7 separate regions of the Homo sapiens genome follow, and all the other regions are linked to region 2. Evidence: promoter capture Hi-C in 16 types of primary human blood cells and fetal thymus (Javierre and others, 2016). All regions are on one chromosome and are shown on one strand. Each heading gives the region's core, a stretch centred on a gene start or on the middle of the fragment in contact. The rest is flanking DNA. Distances are from core to core; before and after follow the strand shown.

Region 1 (2,780 bases), core at 262-2,761, 290 kb before region 2:
CGAGAATCAATTGAACCTGGTAGGTGGAGGTTGCAGTGAGCCAAGATTGAGCCACTGCACTCCAGCCTGGGCGACGGAGCGAGACTCTGTCTCCAAAAAAAAAAGAAAAAAAAAAAAACAAAAAAAAAACCCATTAAATCAGAAGTTTATCTCTGTTTAAATCATCCTCTTAAAATACCATGAAAAATATTGAAAAAGAAATAAGGAGACAAACAAAACAAACAAAAGGGTACCAAATGGGACAAAGAATGATTGGATAAAGTTTAATTTACATAGTAAAAATCTTATTAATTAGGTGCTGAGGTTTTTTATTTTCTAAGAGAGAAAAATTTCCCCTCTCATTTCCTTTTCTGAAAATAAGAGCTTCCTAAATCTTGTTTTTGCTGAAGTCAAAGCAGTAGTAAAAGTGATTTCTCTTTTACAATACTGTCAGTGGTTTCTTCCCTTTTCTTTTTTCTTTTTTTTAAGAGACGGAGTCTCACTCTTCCCTTTTCAAGATACAGCCAACCTCTCTACAGTTGAACAAAAATGAAACAGATAAAAATATAAAATACGAAATTCTATAAAGGTTGGTTATATTTACTATGAAAGCTAAAAACATGCATATATAAATGGTAACTAATGTTTTCCAACAATTTACCATATGCCAAGCAGATACTAAGTGCTTAAGAAGCATCCTCTCATTGCTACTCATTAGTTTAGATATTTCATTTAAGTGTCTTTAACACATAAGGAAATTGAGGTTAGAGAATTTATATAATTCACCCATGATCACAAGAGGTACTCAGGCTGAAACTCAAATCTAGATTCTGTCTCCGGAGCCCGCATTCTTAATCAGTATGCCAAATACACAACTACACCTAAGATGCCAGTTTTATTTTATCTTCATTCTCAAAAGATATCTTCATCAGATATAGAATTGAATTGACAGCTTTTTTCTTTCAGTACTTTAAAGATGTTGCTCCATTGTTTTCTAGACTCCATTATTTCTGCTAAGGCCATGATCACTCAAATTGTTGTTCCTCTATGTATGTTTTCCTATTTTGAGAAAGTTGTGGCTATTACTATTGTTTCTTCCTCTTCCTATAATCTCTCTCATCTCCCTTTGGAGGTTCAATTACCTGTTACTCCTGTTATTACTCCTTTGCTGTTGTTCCACAGGTACCTGACTTTCCTTTTCTGTTGTTGTTGTTGTTTTTAATTTTTTCCCTTACTCTTCTTCATATTGGTTATTTTGTATTGCTCTATCTTCGAACTGACAGACCAATTCCTCTGTCATTTCCATTTTGCTATTAAGTCCATCTAGTAACATCATTTTGATTTCAGATATTGTATTTCTTAGTTCTACAGTTTCCATTTGATTTTTTATATTTTCCTTTTTTGCTGAGATTTCCTTTCTTTATAATGATACAAACATATTTCTTTACTTCGTTAAGCACAGTTTTAATAGTTGTGTTAAAGTCTTTGTCAGATAGTTCAACATCTGGATCATCTTGGGGTTACCATCTGTTGACTTGTCTTTTCTTTGAAAATAGTTCACATTTCCCTGGCTCATATATCAAGTAATTTTAGATTATATCCTCGATACTGTAAATGCTATGTTGTAAGAACTCTAGATTCTGTTTTATCTTTCTGAAGAGTGTTAATATTTTTGTTTTAGCAGGCAAATAAATTCTAACTGAAAACTCTCTATGTCTGGTAAGGAGAGAGACTCAGATCTCAGTTCAGATTGCTCTCAATTTGCCGTGGGCATGCATGTAGACTATGCAAGTCAGAGAGTCAGGTGAAGCTATTATACAGCATTTAGAATTTCCATTATCTGGCTCTCTCTTTTCTTGGGTGCCTTCCCTACTCTTTGGTAGCACTGGCCCCCTTCCCCTGGTTCTTTTGGACAGAATAATGGGGGGTTTTGTACTGGAACATTAGTTATGCCTTACTGTGCCTGCCCTCAAGGCAAAGCTGCAAAGAATGAGAATCTCACTCTGTAAGGGTTGCTTTGTCAAAGTTTGATACCCTCCAAAATCTATCTGTTTTTTGTTCCAGACCCCACAAGTAATTGATTTTTTTGTTTTTTTTTTCTAGGTTTTCAGTCATGTGCAAGAGCTTACTTCTCCATACTGGAAGTAGAAGTTTCTCAAAAATTTAAAAGCAAATAAACTTATACGTAATTTACTTCATATTCCTAAAGTACTAAAATAACTTTTGCTCTCCAAAGTACAGCTATTCCACATGTTTAAACAGATGTTTGCTGACAGCACTGACTTCTCCAAGAGCCTAAGAGAGGAGAGCAGCCAATTAAACTCCACTGTCTTCTAAAATTTTAATCCTAGATTGGTTTCAGATGGGTTAAGACAGTCATTCAACCCACAAGTATTTAAGGAAGGCACCTGGGACTGACTCAGTTCCTAGATTTAAACCTATTCTGTGAACTGTCCACCCCTACCTTCAAAGTACAGAGATGAAACAGGTTCTCATATTCTCTATGAGCACATCCTCCTACTCCTGCTTCCTCTTATCTGCCCTTTTTACAATCTGAAAGTTTTTTTTTGTTGTTTTTTTTTTTTGAGACGGAGTCTCACTCGTCACCCAGGCTGGAGTGCAGTGGCGCAATCTCAGCTCACTGCAACCTCTGCCTCCCGGTTTCAAGTGATTCTCCTGCCTCAGCCTCCTGAGTAGCTGGGATTACAGGTGCCCGCCAGCACATCTGGCTAATTTTTGCATTTTTAGTAGAGACGAGGTTTCACCATGTTGGCCAGGCTGGTCTTGAACTCCTGACCTCA
Region 2 (3,061 bases), core at 206-2,705:
TTATTATTGCTCTGCCTAATTTACAGAGTTGAGGCGAGGAATTTTATTTAAGTAAGTTACTTATTCAAGTAAGTTTATTTTTTTATTTTTTGAGACATGGTATGACTCTGTTGCTCAGGCTGGAGTGCGTTTGCTCAATCATAGCTCATTATAACCTCAAACTCCTGGGCTCAAGCGATCCTCCCGCCTCAACCTGAGTAGCTGGGACTACAGGCCCATGCTACCATGCCCTGCTAATTAAAAACAAATTTTTTGCAGAGATAGGGGTCTCACCATGTTGCCCAGGCTGGTCTTGAACTTCTGGTCTCAAGCAATCCTCCTGCCTCGGCCTCCAATGCATTGAGGTTACAGGTAGAGCCACCACCCCCAGCCTCAAGTTAAGTTTAGAAGATAATCACCAATCAAGCATTTTAAATAGCAGTGGCTTGAATATACATAGTAAAAACACAAAATAATAATAATGATAATAATGGCAAAGCTACTCCATATAGTGAAAAGGGCAATGAATTGGGAAGTCAGAAATCTCTAGCTCCATCCATTTATGACAAAACTTAGACTTTATATGTGCTAGATGCTGGAGACTCCAAGGTGAATACTAAACACTTGCTATGGGAAAACAACTTGGTCTTTTCTTGAATCTTCTTCTCACTTGGCAAGTGGAAGCTCACTTGGCTTTGTTTTGAATTAGTTTGAATTAAAAATGTTCAACTAGACTGAAACACATCAAATATATAAAATTCTAGTACTTCATTAAAACGCAATTGACTACTTTTGGAGGTTGCTAGGCATTACTATTATTATAAAAATTGATAAAAGAGGAAAAAATAAAGCATTTATCCTGCCTTTCCTGCATAATCTGTATTTCAGGTAACCAAAGCGTTGTTGAGAGAAAAAAAAAATGCAAAATACATCACTGAGATTAGTTGATGAGCTAAAACTTCTGATAAACGTATCTGTTTTGTCTACCTCAGAGGACACTTGAGGAGAGGCTGTCAAGGGATTAAAGGGAAAGGAAGCACTTGGTGGGCTGCAAAAACTCTCTTTAGGTCTAAGGTCGCATTCTGGCTCCAGAATGCCAGGGCTGCTGGGGCGGGCAGGAGCTGACAGCTCTTCCCGTATCTGGGGCTCACAAGCATCAGGTGCATGGCAGGTCACCCTCCCGGCCAAGGGTGTTAAGCAGGCTCGGTCTGAGTTCTGGGTGCGCCACGCCTGCCTTTCTGGTCTCTGCAGCAGCAACCCCAGCACCCTCAAAGCCTAGCGACCGAGAATGAGAAACCGTGAAAAAAACACGCAGCGGCAGGCCACGCCCAGAGTAGGCCTGCGCGCGCGCGCGCGGCCTCCCACTTCCGGCCACGGGAGCTGGGGGCGGGGCCGAGCGCTGCGCAGGGCTCCGTCGTGTGGCGAGCGGCTGCCCCCTGTCTGCGACGAGCGGCGGGACCCGCGGGCCGCCTCGCAGACTGCTACCCCGCCGCGCTCGCGGCCGCCTGCGTCCTCCTCAGCAGCCCTGCGACAAGTCCCGGCTCCTGCTGCGATTATATTATTTTTATTTTTAATTCACAATTTCCCCTGGCCCTCAAAGCGTTTTTTTGTTTGCGGGCAAGAGGGAGTTAGAGGAGGGTAAAAAAGACTTTGAATGTGAGGCAAAGATGGAGGAAGGCGTCCAGGCCCCAGACTGGGACAGTGATGAAACTGTGATAGAGGGTTCAGTGACGGAGAGCGACCTGGAAGAAAAGGAGCTGCCCTGGAGAAGGTGACCATCATTAGGGCCACAGTGCCTGAACCCTCGCGCCAGGGCGGCCCAGGTGCCCTCTGAGGGGGTCAGAGTTTTGAGTGGAGATCGTGACCAGAACATGTGCTTGTGGGCAGGATCAGAGCCTTGTGGGGCAGCCGTGCCTGAGCTGAGAGCTTGTAAATAAGCAAACACAGTCTGTTCCCACCTACCCCCAACCAGCTAGGGATAAAATGAGGTTTGTACTAGGTGGCTTTATAGCATTTTTCAAAAGGCTTTCCTTTTGGGGGCTTTAAGTCTTTTTGCACAAGCAAAAAAGATCTTGGGTCTGAACTTAACTGCATTTTGTTTCAGGAGACTTCATTTTGCTTCAAGAGACTCGTAGCTCAGTTCTAGGAAAATGGGTAACAGTTTCTCTCAAGAAAAGAATGTGTGATGGGGAAACTGGTCCCTGCCAAACTGGAAACGAATAGTTTTATACGAATCCAAAAAAGTCGGTATTTCAGGTTATCGAAACCTTTCTCTAACATATTCTCTGTGCTAGACACAGGGAAAAGAGGGCAGGGATGAGGCCACTAGGTCTGCTTCATATGTGCTCAGGGCTGTGTCTGGGACTTAAGTTGGATCGTACACAGAATTAGGTCATTCTCCTTTCCCTCTCTCTCTTCTCCAGGATTCTCCTGCCCCCTTTCCTCATCATACCCACTTGCCAGTTCATATGATCAGAAAGACAGGTTTCTTTGAGTGTTAGCCTTTTCACTATACAGCAGTTCCTTACAAGGGGGACAGCCTTTAGCACAGAGTTAAGAAAAGAGAGAAAAAAGGGGGATTCTGTCCACACTTTTCAGGCAATACCGATCCCTTTTCCCAGTTCCTCTGGTAGACACTTTCTCTTGAGTTTTATGTTCCCCAGTTGCCATGGTTGGTGTCTGCTCTGAGGCTAGGGCCAGCCTTGGGGCAGGGCTGGGAGGTGAGAGAGAAAGCAACATAAAGCCCTGGGCTTTGTCCTATACCTTCTGGCATGCAGGGGTCATTTTCCTTGGTCTTCTGGATAAAAATAGGTTTACTGTCTGTGCCCACTGGATGGTTCAAAGCTGAAAGACAAAAAAGAACCAAAAAACCGAAAACAAACTGAAACTCGTCAATAAATGGGTTGTTATTAAGATTTCAACTTCAGTCCCCAATCTACCTGCTATTGTTTACTTTTCAAGGTTCTCGAGTAGTTTTTAAAAAATATTCATTCGGAGTTTTTGGTTGTAATGAGAAACAGGCAGAGGTTGCTATGAGCCAAAATGACTCCACTGCACTCCAGCCTGGGCGACAGAGTGAGAC
Region 3 (3,072 bases), core at 261-2,760, 270 kb after region 2:
TCTAATAACAATATAAGTTCATTTTCTATCCTGAAAATTGGAAAGCTGGCCGGCATTCTACACTTTCTATTAAATTTAGAAGGAAGTATTTAACATCTGTCATGAGTCAGGATTGTGGTAGGGACTATCAGGTATGTGAAGATGAATAAGGCATAATATCTGCTCTCCAGGAGTTCACTGTCTAGTAGGAGAGGTAATATTTGACACAGATTTATCTTTCCAGGCAGAAAGAGGAAGAAGGTGATAAGTTCCTCAAATAAGGCGTAAAGTATTATGGGATATCCTTATGGGAGAAGATAATTAGACTCTTACATCACAGACAATAGGAAATCCATACACAGTGAAGATTGTGTGTGCGCGCATGCTTTGGGAGAAAACGGTAAAGGATGCCTTTATAATTTATAGTCCAAGCAGACCTTTCTTCCCAAAGAAGGCACTACAAAATCCAAAAACAATAAGTAGAAAAAATTAACACAAAAAATGAAAACTTCTTTATAATGAAAGTCATCATCACAAAGTAAAAAGAAAGGTGACAACTTTTTGACCAGCAATTTCACTTCTCAGGAATCTATTCTACAAATACACTACACTGCAGAGATACAAAATGAAATAAGCAAAAACTGATTTGTTTTGTTTGTAATGATAAAATAATTGTAAACACCCAAGTGCCCAGCATAGAGTATGGTACATCCACCAACAGAGTACCACGCAGCTGAAAACAGAATGAAGAAGATCCCTATGGACTGATATGGAGCAGTTACCTGGATATCAGTAGTTTATATTAAGTCAATATTAAGTGAAAAAAATAATATCAGAACATTTATTTCTCTTTTGTGAAAGAATTTTTTTTGTTTGTAGATTTTGTATTCTTAATCTGTAAACATTTAAATATGAAAAGTACCTGATAAGGTAGAAATCACCTGAAATCTTGCCCACTCCGAGATAAACACCTTTATACATCAATTGTATATACATATATGAAAAAATAGATATAAATACAAGAAAGTGATGATGATATGAGTACCAAAACCAGAAAATTTCTATTGGACATGGTAAGTGTAACTCCACTTATTGGATAGGTGAATATACAGGGTATTACAGGAGTGAATAATTGGGTTGAGGGTGGGTCAAGAAGCACTTTCTTAGAGGAGTTCCTGAAACATTCTAGATCTTTTGCCTGTCCCTCTTTTTTGGTTAGATTTGCAGGGTTTCTTAAAATTTTTTCATTTTTGTGGGTACATAGTAGGTGTATATATTTATGTGGTACATGAGATATTTTAATACAGCCATACAATGCATAATAATCACATCAGGGTAAATGGGGTCTCCATCTCCTCAAGCATTTATCCTTTCTTTGTGTTATAAACAATCCAATTATACTCTTTTATCTATTTTTAAATTTATAATAAATTATTGTTGTTTGTGGTCACCCTGTGATGCTATCAAATACTAGATTTTATTTATTCTATCTAATTATATATTTGTCCCCTTTAACCATCCCCAGTCCCCACCATCCCACTATTCTTCCCAGCCTCTGGTAAACATCATTCTACTCTCTATCTTCATGTGCTCAATTATTTTAAATTTTAGCACCTACAAATAAGTGAGAACATGCGGTGTTTGTCTTTCTGTGCCTAGCTAATTTCACTTAACATAATGACCTCCAGTTCCATCCATGCTGTTGCAAATGACAGAATCTCATTCTTTTTTATGGCAGTACTCCATTGTGTATGTGTACCACATTTTCTTTATCCATTCGTCTCTTGATGGACACTTAGGTTTCTTCCAGATTTTTTATCATGTGCTACATTTTATGTTTTAAAAATAAAGGAGAGAAACACTATACAGGCATTTTTGCTTATATCTACACAATGAAGCACAGGAAAATGATTCCATGTAAGGGATTGGGAGGGACAGGTGGAGGGACAGAGGTGGAAATGCAACTCCTCTGTGTTTACCTTTCTGTGTAGGTTTGATTTTTGAATCTTATAAAATGTATTATCCACCCTTACATTTTAATAAAATAAAAAGATAAACAACACTCTAGAGAAACTACATAGAGGATTAATAGCCATATAAATAAAAAGCCTACACAAATCAATAAGAAATTTCCATCTAATAGAAAGATGGCAAAGGACACAGATAATTTATAGAAGAAAAACAAATGTGCAATAAACATAATGATCTCATTCTCAGCAAGAACCAAAGAAATTCTAATTGAAACAATAAGATATTTTTATGTAACTGATTATCTTAAATTTAAAAGATAATATCAGTGAAGAGTAAGAGGGTGAGGAAACAGGAACCTTCCTATAAAATGGTTGGTCTGAATATAAACCGGTAGCACCTTACAGGAATATTTGAAAAATTCCAAATCTAGGAATTTATGCCGAATACTCACTTACAATGAATACCAAGAAAATATGCTGCAATGATGTTAATTGCTGTAGTGGCTGTAATAGCAGAAAAATAGGAACAACTTAAATGTCCATTATATTATGATATAGACATACAATGAAACACTAGGCAGTCATTATAAGAATCAAGTCACAGGCTGAGCGTGGTGGCTGGCCTGTAATCCCAGCACTTTGGGAAGCCGAGGCGGGCAGATCACCTGAGGTCAGGAGTTCAAGACCAGCCTGACCAATATGGAGAAACCCCATCTCTACTAAAAATACAAAATTAGCCTGGCATGGTGGCACATGCCTGTAATCCCAGCTACTCGGGAGGCGGAGGCAGGAGAATTGCTTGAACCCAGGAGGCAGAGTTTGCAGGTGAGCTGAGATCGTGCCATTGCACTCCAGCCTGGGCAACAAGAGCGAAACTCCATCTCAAAAAAAAAAAACACACGAAAAATCAAGTCGCTCTATATGTATTGATTTAGGAGTATATTTAAGATGTATTAACAAGCGTATAAAGCAAATTGCAGTAAATTATGATCATATTTTTGTAAACCAAAGGATTAAAAATTTTATTATGGGCCAGGTATGGTAGCTCACACCTATAATTCCAGCACTTTGAGAGGCTGAAGCAGGAGGATCGCTTGATCATGTAGTCCCAGCTGTAGTCCCA
Region 4 (2,943 bases), core at 90-2,589, 290 kb after region 2:
CTCAAACATTTATTATTTCTTTGTATTGGGAACATTTCAACTCTTCTCTTCTAGCTATTTAGAAATATACAGTACACTGTTGTTAGCTATAGACACCCTATGCATTTTAATAGCAGACTGAGTTATGTTCCAAACCACAGGCTGTCTTCTCTCCTCCATATCATTGTAGTTTTTGCTGTGATTTAATTACATAGCAAAATTTAATCTCAGTTGAATTCACTAAGAACCTCTGACTCCCGGCTTGACCCAGGGAGATAGTCCATCCAACCCCTCAAGCCTAAGGTAGTTTTTAGTCAGGGTTACAAGGAAACCCAGTCAAAAGAGGCATAATCTTTCAGCTGCTACTGGAACGGGGAGTGAAGTGTCAGAAGCATCCTGGAAGGAGTGCACTCTTTTCTCAAGAGGACATGTGATGAGTCTTTAAAGTATTAATGTTGTACCCTGCAGGTCAATGGGTCAAACCACTTCCATTAGCTGGGCAGTGTAAGTTTGGCATCAGAGCATAAGGTTTTGATTGAATGCAATGATTTTTCCCTCTCTTATTTCCCTTTGGACCGGTGAGTATTATCACCTGGTGGTGGAATCCTTTCTCCACTTCCTCTTTGTTCTGCTCTCCAAGGGCTCAGTGTATAAGGTTTCAATCTGCTATTGTGATATGCATGCATTTTTTAACCTCAACTCAAGTATGGAGTGCACTGATATACCAGAGCGCCCTCCCCGACCACTGCCTGCCCACACACTTGAAACAAGTTTCAAAATTACACTCTGATAGTTCTCATTTTATGTCTCCACCTCCTCCTCCTCTTTTGTTGAATTTTCAATACCAGTCAAGACAACAGTATTAGTTTTGTGACTTACAAATAGATCACCTCTCATGACTGGTATCTACCCCCACTCCTTCTCTGTGATGTTTTCATCATCTTCTAGGTCTTACTCTTTCTTGTGCAAATTTTTGGATTTATCAATTACTCTGAAATAATTTGGAATTGTCAAATATTTATATATATATATCTGTAAAAATTCCTCAAAGGATTTCTCAAAATATCACAATATTTGATATCCTCTCTGCCACTTCATTTCTTTTCTCTGCCTCAAAGCCCCATATAGAAAACATTCTGAAAATATAATCACCAAAATGCAAATTCTATCCTTTCTGGAAAGTGGAATTGCAAGTAATTTTTTAAAGTGTATATTTTCTAATACCTACATATTTTTGTATAAAAATAGTATGTTTTAAAATGACCATCACTATATTTAATTAAGAGGTATTAGAGCTCAGAGCGTGATACCCCAAAATTTGGTACTTTGGCATAGTGGGTACTTTGGACTGAAGGAGGATGGAAGGGCCTCAGAAGTTAAGGTGTTCAAATATGATATTCTGGCATGTTAACTGTTTAAGCTAAAAACACCTGAAAAACAGCAGATGCCAGAAGATCACTTTGACCTTCATGCTGTTTCTTAAGAGCAGAAGATGAAATTCCAGTGTGGAAGACACTCTCCCTGTACTAGGAGGAAAGACAGCATCCTTATCTTCAGGGATGAAAAGTTAAAACCAAGAGAATACTGTAGACTTTGATAGAATCACTCTTATCTTTTAAAGCCTCTCCACACAAGTTAGTTGCTTCTTCACAACTTGTAATTCCTTGTCCAATTCAGTATATAAGTAACTCACTCTAACTGCTTCTTTGGGTCTTCATTTATGCATGAGGGCTCCCCTGCCATGTAAAACTTGTATTAAATAAATTTGTATGTTTTTCACCTGTTAATCTATATTATGTTAATTTAATTCTCAGACCCAGCCAAGACCCTAAGAGGGTGGAAGTGGAATTTTTCCATCCCTAGAAGAGCAAAAAATTCCCTCTGACCTTCTCCCATCTTCCTTCACTTTCCCTCATTTCTCTCCTGAAGTAAGCCATAGAAAGTAGAACTCCTCTCCCTCAAAGCAAGAAATATTACTGTCTGACCTTCTCCCTTCTCCCCTAAAGGCTGCGAAATGACAGGTGTTTTGCCCTCGACCCCCAAAGGAAGAAATGTTACAGATTGGCCAGGAAGAATCTGCACAAACAGGTCTTAGTGGGTTCCCTCTCAGTTCGTTCTCATTCAATCGTTTGTCCAATCACATTTCTACATGCTTGTCCATTCTCCGTGAAAGAAAACCATAAAACTACACAGTTTTCCTTGGATCTTTGGGTCTTCATTTCAAAAAGCTCCCATGTCACATAAAACTTTGTTAACAAATGTGCTGTGCGTCTCTCTTGCTCACCTGCCTTTTTTTGTAGGAGTATCTGCCATGACCCTGGTGATGGGTAGTACCTTTTCAACCCTACAGAGGCTGCTAGAGCTTGTAAAATGCTGGGAAATACTTTCTCAGAGTCCTACTAATGTTTTAGTTTCTTCTCCTAAGTTATTCTCATTCTTTGGGAAAGATACTTAACTTTTTCTATGGTTTGTTACTGTGGGTTTATAATTACATTTATCTTTTCCTTTTCCAAAAAATAAAACAAGTGTGTTTAATTAATGAAGTTTTTCTTATTAAATATTCTCAAATTGAGTGAACTAGATATGGATTAGTGTTTACAAATGAATTCACAAGCAAAGGAAGTTTACAGATAGAACTCAGTTATCTGCCTTTGAAAGACATCACTGTTGTGTTTTTTTTTTTTCTTTTACCATCCTTTTCTTCTCTCACGGCTATCTTTCCATTCCCTTAAGGTGTGTATACACACATATGTAATCAGTTTGTTAGTGTCAATCATCAAGAATCAATTCATCAAATGGCCAACAAGTGATAGGAAACTGTTGCTCGTAGTTCTTATATTTAGGTAACAAATTATGTCTGTCTTCCCTGAGGGATTCATAATTCAGCAAAGCTGTCAAGCCTCAAAGGCATACATTGAGTTTGTGTTTATTCTTTGTCGTATCTAGACTAATTGGCTGATTTTT
Region 5 (2,930 bases), core at 81-2,580, 310 kb after region 2:
CACCCTCAGGAGACGAGACACTTGGGCCCTCCTGACTCTTTCAGGTGGTGCAGGGTTCTAGCCTCCTGGAGGGCCCCACCTTTCCCACAGCTCCATGCCCCCTCTTCTGAGGGAGTAGGAGAAAGAGAACAATTTCCTCTCCGTCCCTTTCTCTGTCTCTCTCTCTCTCTTCCTCCTTTTTTTTCTCTCTCTCTCTCTACACACACACACACACACACACACACACACACACACACACACACACACACCAGGTTGTGAATTAAGACACTGATGGCCTCCTCCAGGCTATACGCATTTTGAGGCTCTGTAAAAACTGTCTAAGAGGAGACCCAATAGAAATGAATCCAGAGATGTGCCAGTGGGAAATCAATTGACCCGCAAGTAATAAGTTACAATTTACTTACATGTTCACACTGCTGAGCATGGAAAGTGAAGTATCTGGGATAATGAATGCCCCCTATCCTGTCCATATAATTCTGTACCAACACTGGTATCATTTCGGCAACACTCAGTGTTGGATTTTTGTTCATGATGGTTTTCATACCCAGTAATATGCACAGCTCTTATTTTATCTTAGAGCTTCAAAAGAAAACATATTGAGACAAGCTTCTTCATGGCTGGTCATCTAACATGCTCTCCTTTATTTCTAAGGGAACAAAGTACATATTTTCTCCAATGCAACTGAAATTTCAACTCCTGCTATTTTCTTTTAGGGCTTTGGGGAGTCAGTGTTAGTCAAATACTAATGACAGTCAAAAGAGCTAGAATTTTTTATATAATTTTCCATTTACAGAAATGCAAATGATATTTAAAATAAGAATAATTTCAGAACTAGTACATTGCTTTGTTGAAATAATCTGTTCAAAACCTCATAGTTCAAATCATATACAAATGCAAATTTACTGGCATATATGAGTATCTAACATGAAAATTTTTAAATGTTGAAACCTTCAGATTCCAGAGAGATAAAATATTTTGTAAAATGCTCAACCTCTTGGAATTGTCTTCAGTCAGGTCTGTGGTTCACATATATAAACTTACTCAGTTGGGATGGCATAGATATTATTGTCTTGTTTGGCCCAGACAATATGATCCCAATGTACTTGGAGGGTCTTTAGGGCTTGTCCCCAGAATATTGCTTTTAAGACCTTATTTCAGTTGGCTAACGACTAAAAAATAGAATTTGTGGAACAGCTTCTTGTCAAAATCACATCAATTGCTCCTTAATTTTTGTCCTACAGACCAGTGTTATACAGATATAAATTTCCTAGGGAAATGCTTATAGTAGGCATTAGTTGGTTAAGATTTCAAACTCTGAGCTATCTCATCATTTTACAACATATGCTCAAAGTGGAAAATATGGCCCATTACTTCTTCACATTTAGAAGTAATACTTTGAATTGTGTAGAAGATAAACTGATGGCATTCCATATGCTCTGAGAGAGAGTTCAAGGTCAGTCAGCAGTTATTAAGTTGCCACCGAAGGACAAACATTGCCCTCAGGAAAGCAGCGACAACTCCATGGATGAGAGGTACTGGCTGTGTTAGGCCGTTCTTGCATTGTTAGAAATGCCTGAGACTGAGCCAGGCGTGGTGGTAATCCTATAATCCCAGCACTTTGAGAGGCCGAGGCAGGCGGATCACGAGGTTAGGAGCTTACGATCAGTCTGACCAACATGGTGAAACCCTGTCTCTACTGCACAGGTTGCAGTGAGCCGAGATTGCACTACTGCCCTCCAGCCTGGGCGAGAGCCAGACTCCATCTCAAAAAAAAAAAAAAAAAAAAAAAAGTGACAATTAGGAGCATTTAGTAAAATTGATCTTCCATATTTATTAAGACTTCTATAGGTCATAAGTAAGTGTATTCAGAAATAAACTAAGCAAACTGTGATAAATAAGGCCAGGAATGCCTTTTATATAGTTACACAGGAAAAGTAAACCTAAAGGTATTAGGACTCATCTATCATAGCTAAACCCTGACAAACAGAAATTACTTTTAGTTTGCACCATCTAGAGGTGAAAAAAAGAATTCTGAATTTATCCTACAAAGCTTTCAGATCTTTTTTTTTTTTTTTTTTTTTTTGCTCATGAGGTTGCTAGCTGTCTTACAAATATTTGATTATTTTTAAAAATCTTAGAAGAGTAGAAATTCAGTATACCACCTTAGCCACTTGATGTCTACTTTGTGTCTGTTAAAAAGGGTTGGGGACAAAGTTGTGCTCAGTGACAACAAAACACTACCATCAACGTAAATACCTCAAAATGAACTTCTGATTAGAAGGATTTTTTGGCTGGGAGTGGTGGCTCATGCCTAGAATGCCAGCAGCACTTTGGGAGGCCGAGGTGGGAGGATTGCTAAGGCCAGGAGTTGGAGACTAGCCTGGCTAACGGAAAGACCTCACCTGTACAAAAATTACAAAATTAGCTGAGCATAGTGGCACACTCCTGTAATCCTAGCTACTTGGGAGGCTGAGATAGGAGAATTGCCTGTGCCCACAAGTTCAAATTTGCAGTGAGCCATGATCACACCACTGCACTCCAGCCTGGGCAAGAAAGTGAGAGCCTGCCTCAAAAAAAAAAAAAAAAAAAATCTAGCATGGTCCTCATGGTGCTTAGATTGTAATGCTTCTGTCATTATTAGTCATTATTTCATTATGTAATTTTTAGTCAAAATAATTTTTCCCCTAAATTATTTTGGCTCACTCTGAAAGAATTGAAGCTGATACATTTTGAGCGTTCTTGTGTATATGTGTTTGAACATCCTTGTCCAAGCAAGCACCCTTATTGTAGTAAAGTTTTCACTGTAGGAGTTTTTTTGTTGGTTTGTTTGTTTTTTTGAGATGGAGTCTCGCTCTTGTCGCCCAGGCTGGAGTGCAATGGCACAATCTTGGCTCACTGCAACCTCCCCCTCCTGTGTTCAAGTGATTCTC
Region 6 (2,789 bases), core at 69-2,568, 370 kb after region 2:
AAATGTAAATACAAGTCATATAATTTCATTCATCACTGGCTATGGGTAGAACCCAACTACCCAAAATTCCTGCTCTATTAAATCTAATTCATTAAGTTTCATTAAAATGGTAAATGATGTGTAATAGTAAAGATTTTGGCTAATTAAATATTATACAAATGAAACAATAGATTCTTATATGGCAGAAAAGCTTTTTTTAAAAATCAGGGTCAAATATATCTATATCAACAAGCATTCTTTGAAGTATTTTTTGATCTTGCTAATTTTGCTAATCATTAGTAAATTCGTGAAAGTTGGTATTGTGATTGCTAAATATTTCCCAGGAATGAAAGAAGCAATTTTCAACTTTTCTGGATGAGCTGAACATAATACTACGGTTCTTGGATGATGAGTAAAAGAAAGTCTTGACATTAATACTTAGATACAATATTGTTTCTCAATACAGTTATTAAATATATTTAGACTACAATACGCATTACCTTAAAGACAATTTATCATGTTTTAAATGCTGGAGGGCTAATTTTCAGTAGGAGTGTGTAATTAGCAAAGGCGCCAGAGGCCATAAGACGGTAGAATAGAGCTGGGAGAGGCACGGGAGGAAAGCCGGATGGAACCCTGTTGTCTTTCTGGGTCAGGGTTATTCTGTACCGGTTAAACGGTGAAAGAGAAAAGGTCAGCGCAGGAATGTGGTATTTCCCTGACATCTCCAGATGAAAGTCCGGGCTCTAGGACTTCTGTAGACTGTGAAAGCAGCCCACGATTCTAACTTGCATGCACCTAAGTGGCAGTAGGTTTAGGATGAAAGTGGTGGGGCGGAGGCCGGCGGTCCTCGCCCGTGCCCTCTGCACCCCTGTCCCGAGGCCGGGATGGCCGCGCCCACTCTGGGTAAATTTCAGGAGGGCCTACGCGGGGCTGGAGAACTCCACCGGGCTATGCGAACAGAATCCTGCGAAGGTCGGCATTAAAGGAATACGCAAAATCAGCGTTGCAGCCCCCGCGGCTTAACCGCATCTATTTTTATATCTAAGCCAAGGTCACTCTTTAATACCAGGCCATTGCCCTGAGCTGGGCGTCGCGCTGCCGGGTGACGGCGGCCGGGGCGGAGAGAGGGGGCGCGGGTGGCGAGGCGGGGGCCGCGTGACGCCCCCGGGCTGGCCAAGCCCGCACCTGCCGGGCCGGCGCCTGAAAGCCGGGGCTGGAGGGAGGCAGGGCGGCGTCCCAGGCTCCGAGGAGGGGCCGCTCCGCGCTGGCGGGCGGGGGGATTCGCGGTGGGCGCGGGCGCGGAGCGGAAGCGAAGGCTGGAGGCGCTGCGGCGCTAGTGCGTCACGTCGTCGGAGGGCACGGTGGGCCGCGGCCGACCCGCGACGAGGAGCCGGGCGTCCGGGGCGAGCGGGAGGCAGCCGCACTCGCCCTGGCAGCCGCGAGCTGTGCGGCCTGGGACCGGCCGGAGGTCGCCAGCGAGCAGCCGCCGGCTCCATTCATTCGCGCGGCTCCGCCTCCTTTCCCGGGCTCTTCCAGCGGCTCCCGGGGCGCGTCTGAGGTGAGTGCGCTCCCTCTCCCCGGCGCGGACCGCTGGGTGAGGCCGAGACGGCCGCGCCGGGCCCCGCGCCCCCGCCAGCACCAGACCCGCGGACACCGAGCGGCGACGCGGGCCACCGGCTGTGGGCGGCCCCTGCGGGCTGGGCCTGGCGCAGACCAGTGCGGGCCGCCTGGACCCGGGGCTCGCGTCCAGCTGGCGGCGGTCTGCGGGGATCCCGTAGGGCGTGTGGCGCCCCCAGGTGCGCCGGCCTCCGCCTCGGCGCCACCATTTTGTGTGAGGGAATGCCCGTCTTCGCTCGCCTCCGCCGCGGGCCGGTTCGCAGCTGCGGCTTGCCGCCCCCTCCCCTCGCCCTCTCCCCACCTGGATGCTTGGCGTGCGAGCTGATTGCTTTGGCTTGGGGAGACGCGGACTCGGGGAGGTGTGGAACTTCAGCGTTTAGACTCGGTTCACCCGACCAGGTGGCCTCCAGAGATGCTCTGACCGCCTTCCTTTACCTGTAACTACTTTTGGAACAGATATTGTATGATTCTCCCTCCTCTGGAATGCTGGTCGTTGCAGTTTTGTCCTAATTGTGTTCTCAGCTCTCCATTATGCCATTTTTCAAGAGGCCTGTGCCTCAGGAGGTGAAGCCTTGAACCCTGGGTGGTTTATGGCTCGGGGGTCTGGATTACACTGACTCCCATGACTGTCCTTGGGGAGAAAGGATGAAGCATCTCACTGGCTTTTCAGCGTCTGGGAAGCGGCGTGGGTATCGTATCGGGTGGATTCGAAGATAACCACCTGATGCAGGTCACCTTCCCCCGCTGGGAGAGCCGTTCCTAACGTAAATTAAAACGTGTGTACGGGTTTTTGGGGGATTGGGACCGGAGGGACATATTTCTAAAAAATTTCCAGAAGGGAAAGTTTTCATTGTGATTCTCACAGAACTGTGACACAATTTGTCATTTTCAAGGTTCCTGAGAATTTGGGAATTCTTTTAATTCGTTGGCTTCTTGCGAATTACTACTTACGAACTGAGCAGATTATACCCAAGCCATTTATATTTTGTCATTGCATCACAGACAGGGATTACAATCGGGAGTGCTGGCTGTTGCATAATGCACACATTTGGGCCCTGGAGGGAATTCACCGAAGTGGATCTGGGTTTGGTGTGCCATGCGTTTTTATTTTTTACACAGGATGTACAGATGATCTTTGCAAACTACGTCCCTTATCGTGCTATAAAGTGTTTACAAGAGGAAAGATTTTT
Region 7 (2,958 bases), core at 342-2,841, 390 kb after region 2:
ATGTCCAATCCCTGTTAACTTTACTAAAGTCCCTGTATAGTCAGATACGTGGTAGAGAAGCCAGGTATAATGTAAGAAATTTTATATTGTCAGTGTTGAAATGGACACAATTTTATGATTTATTAATTTAAGTGCTTATTTTTTCTTTCCTGAGCTTTGTACACTGCTGATTTATAAAGAGTATTTAGTAGTCTGGGTTGTGAAGTACCAGAGTTGCTGACATATTCCACAGGCAAATGTATTACTTTACTGTACTACAGTATGTAGTAGGATCATGTGGAAGCTTCAATTACAAGCCCATTTCTATTTCTTTCTCTCTTAAATATCTATTAATTTATTGTTAGGCTTTTGCAAATGTTTCGAGGCAAGTAAGTAGCATTCTCTATTTCCTGTTCATAGAATATAGATATTAAGATAATGATTTATCATCCATTCCTGGGTGTGGTAATTCAGTATGTATTTTGTGTTCCAACTGTTGAGCACCTTTGAAATAACTTTATGAGTTTCATTTCAGCCTTATGAGTCCTGCTTTGGCTCCCCAGGGTGGAACACTAAAAATTGATATTTTGTCTCCCTTGGAATTAGGATGGAGGCATGTAACCCAAATTTTGCCTATCACAAGATAGGCCGTATCCAAGAGAGACTGCACTACGAAGTGAGCTACTGGAGGAAGGAGGCCCTAAGGGGAATTGACTTTCTTCTCTTGTGTTTCCTGCCTTGGGGCCCTCTCTCTTCTTCCTTCACCTTACCAGGAGTAATTACTGTTAACACTATAATGTATCCTTCCAGACTTTGCTGTACAGACATATTAATCTTTTAAAAAACTTAGCTGGGTGTGGTGGCATGTGCCTGTATTCTTAGCCATTCAGGAGGCTGATGTACGAGGATTGTTGAGCCCAGAAGTTTGAGGCTATAGTGAGCTATGTTCGTGCCACTGCACTCCAGCCTGGGTGACAGAGTGAGATTCTGTCTCTAACAACAAACAAAAACAAAGCAAAAAACTAATGCAAGTAGGCATTTTTTCAAAAAAAGAAGTGGTTTGTTTTTCCTGTTTTATGAATTTTCTATTCATGACCTTTGCTTATTTATTTGCATCTTAGCTTTTAAAAAAAACACTGCATTATTCATCTGTATTAAGGTATTAGATTGTATAAGTCATACTGGTTATAATTTGCCTCTGAGTTTTTTCTTTTTAGATGCAAAAGTTTTGATTGATTTCTAGTTATTAGTTGCAGCAGTTTATTCCTTTCTCAACCAGAAGGAATTTTCCTCTATGTGTTCTGTATGTTCAGGTAATTTGCCCATGGTTACATAGCTAGTAATCCTGTTAGTTTGGCTCAAGAATACACTCCCTTAACCAGTATTTTATACCAGCTTTCACACACTCTCAAAATCCTTTGCAATATAGCTGGATTTTGCTTTTGAAGGCCTAAAACATACCAAATACGCAGTATCTTCATGCTTAAATGATTTCTTATCTAGGAGTATTTTCCTGTACATGAAGAGAGAATTAAACCTTGAGTTGGAAAGAATACTTGGAACACTTCCCCTGACATATATTAAGCAATCTTTAACCGTATTAGGGCTGCCTGAGATGCTGTGCTTTCAGACATACCAATGTGATGGAAAAAAACAGACATCGGAGTCCGACTGCCGGGTTCAAATACTAGCTCTGCTGCTTACTAGTAGTGTGGCCTTGAACAAGTTACTCAGCCACTTTGTGTCTTTGTTTCCTTTTCGGCCAAGTGAAGAGAATTAAAACACCCACCTCATGGGTTTTAGATAAAAGTTACATCAGGTGATACACGTGAAGTGTTCGGAATAGAACCTGGCACATAGTCCACTATCGGATTAGTGGTTATAACTTCAAAAGATGGTTTTGCTTCCTGCTTGAAATAAGGAGAGCCAACAGATATGAATCCCATTCAACTTCCTGCTCTATTACCTAATTTATAGGCCGTCCTAACCCATACATAATTAAATGTTTTTACTTTCCCAGAAAACAGAAAAGGATTGCTGAACAGTGTTGAGGCCCATCTGAGATTTTGATAGTTGTAGCAGTTATTTTGTCATATTCAAAAACTCGGCTCTCATAGTAGAAAAAGATGAGTGGTTAGAGGAATCTAGCGTTTAGGACCTTGTGTAGGGCAGGAGTGATGGAAGAAAAAGTAAGGTAAAGGGATTAGTTGAGCTGATGTAGTACAGGGCCCAGGTTAATTAGGGAAGGAAATGATGTTAGAAAACAGAAAAGGGAGGGATCAAGAGAGGAATCATAATAAGGTTCAGAAATAAGGTTGAGAGCATTGCTGATTATGTTGCCTGGATACCTAACCTATTCTCGGTGTTGGAGAGACCATTGTGAGAGTTAGGATCATGAATTGGATTGGTTGAGATAATTATTTTTTTCCCTGAGAATTCTTTCAGCTCTATAGTGTACATACTTCTTTTTGGGTCTGCCTCTCTCCACAAAGCCCCCAAATAATAGCAGTAACCTGTAAGAATCATGAAATAACTTACGAGCTGAACATGTAGAATATGTTCCCATCTTTTCAGAATATAGTTGGCATCCAGTAATCAACAATAAATAGGGAAAAAATCACAATAATATAAATTTGTTTTCTAACTCTTTTCATGCTTTTCTTAAGGTTATCCATTCTGTCAAATACATAATTTTTTTGGGAAAAAGGAATTATTAAAAGGTAGATACAATATAGCAGATGCTCATGATCTTAGATCTCTTATATAAGAGGTCTTGGTATTATGTTTTTATACAGCTTACCCTGGATTAATGAGCATACCATTCGCTTAATTTGTAAATTAGTTTGGACACTTTTTACACTTCGCTGTCCATTCTGTGTCAGTTTTTTGATGAGTTCACTTAAGGCTACATTAAGCTTTCTCATTCATGTAGAATCTAGTTAGGCCTTTTGGTTTATCTCATGGACAGAGCATAAAGTA

What was found. Contacts are between HindIII fragments. The CHiCAGO score rates a contact against its expected background, and 5 or more counts as called.
Region 1: a fragment that was not itself captured here is called in contact with the fragment with the promoter of ANKRD31 in region 2 in 1 of 17 cell types (neutrophils); the score reaches 5.7 in neutrophils.
Region 3: a fragment that was not itself captured here is called in contact with the fragment with the promoter of ANKRD31 in region 2 in 1 of 17 cell types (non-activated CD4 T cells); the score reaches 5.4 in non-activated CD4 T cells.
Region 4: a contact is called between a fragment that was not itself captured here and the fragment with the promoter of ANKRD31 in region 2, in 3 of 17 cell types (naive CD4 T cells, activated CD4 T cells and non-activated CD4 T cells). The highest score is 7.4, in naive CD4 T cells.
Region 5: a contact is called between a fragment that was not itself captured here and the fragment with the promoter of ANKRD31 in region 2, in 10 of 17 cell types (naive CD4 T cells, activated CD4 T cells, non-activated CD4 T cells and 7 more). The highest score is 21.6, in naive CD4 T cells.
Region 6: a contact is called between the fragment with the promoter of FAM169A here and the fragment with the promoter of ANKRD31 in region 2, in 1 of 17 cell types (naive CD4 T cells). The highest score is 5.1, in naive CD4 T cells.
Region 7: a fragment that was not itself captured here is called in contact with the fragment with the promoter of ANKRD31 in region 2 in 1 of 17 cell types (naive CD8 T cells); the score reaches 5.0 in naive CD8 T cells.

The regions. Positions count from the first base shown.
Region 1 is chr5:75,523,913-75,526,692 of GRCh38, reverse strand. All of the region lies in intron 1 of POLK (DNA polymerase kappa), which reads right to left. Among named protein-coding and RNA genes, the nearest start is that of POLK, 13 kb to the right of the region's middle. The HindIII fragment of the contact is 8,036 bases long and covers 1-2,780 here.
Region 2 is chr5:75,235,272-75,238,332 of GRCh38, reverse strand. ANKRD31 (ankyrin repeat domain 31) reads left to right here and starts at 1,455. Exons shown (of 26, transcript NM_001372053.1): 1 at 1,455-1,750. The coding sequence starts at 1,647. It overlaps LOC124901006 (a long non-coding RNA gene), which reads right to left and starts at 1,295. Exons shown (of 2, transcript XR_007058823.1): 1 at 967-1,295. RefSeq lists a silencer at 1,215-1,514 and an enhancer at 1,565-1,734. The HindIII fragment of the contact is 5,895 bases long and covers 1-3,061 here.
Region 3 is chr5:74,960,624-74,963,695 of GRCh38, reverse strand. The region is part of intron 1 of LOC105379040 (a long non-coding RNA gene); the gene reads right to left. Among named protein-coding and RNA genes, the nearest start is that of GCNT4, 90 kb to the left of the region's middle. The HindIII fragment of the contact is 3,710 bases long and covers 1-3,072 here.
Region 4 is chr5:74,943,479-74,946,421 of GRCh38, reverse strand. No RefSeq gene overlaps it. Among named protein-coding and RNA genes, the nearest start is that of FAM169A, 79 kb to the right of the region's middle. The HindIII fragment of the contact is 5,206 bases long and covers 1-2,943 here.
Region 5 is chr5:74,924,534-74,927,463 of GRCh38, reverse strand. No RefSeq gene overlaps it. Among named protein-coding and RNA genes, the nearest start is that of FAM169A, 60 kb to the right of the region's middle. The HindIII fragment of the contact is 1,444 bases long and covers 609-2,052 here.
Region 6 is chr5:74,864,916-74,867,704 of GRCh38, reverse strand. It overlaps FAM169A (family with sequence similarity 169 member A), which reads left to right and starts at 1,318. Exons shown (of 13, transcript NM_001376049.1): 1 at 1,318-1,540. FAM169A-AS1 (FAM169A antisense RNA 1) reads right to left here and starts at 1,812. Exons shown (of 1, transcript NR_134288.1): 1 at 430-1,812. RefSeq lists silencers at 1,382-1,631, 1,702-1,871. The HindIII fragment of the contact is 5,081 bases long and covers 193-2,789 here.
Region 7 is chr5:74,848,950-74,851,907 of GRCh38, reverse strand. All of the region lies in intron 1 of FAM169A (family with sequence similarity 169 member A), which reads left to right. Among named protein-coding and RNA genes, the nearest start is that of FAM169A-AS1, 15 kb to the left of the region's middle. The HindIII fragment of the contact is 2,611 bases long and covers 286-2,896 here.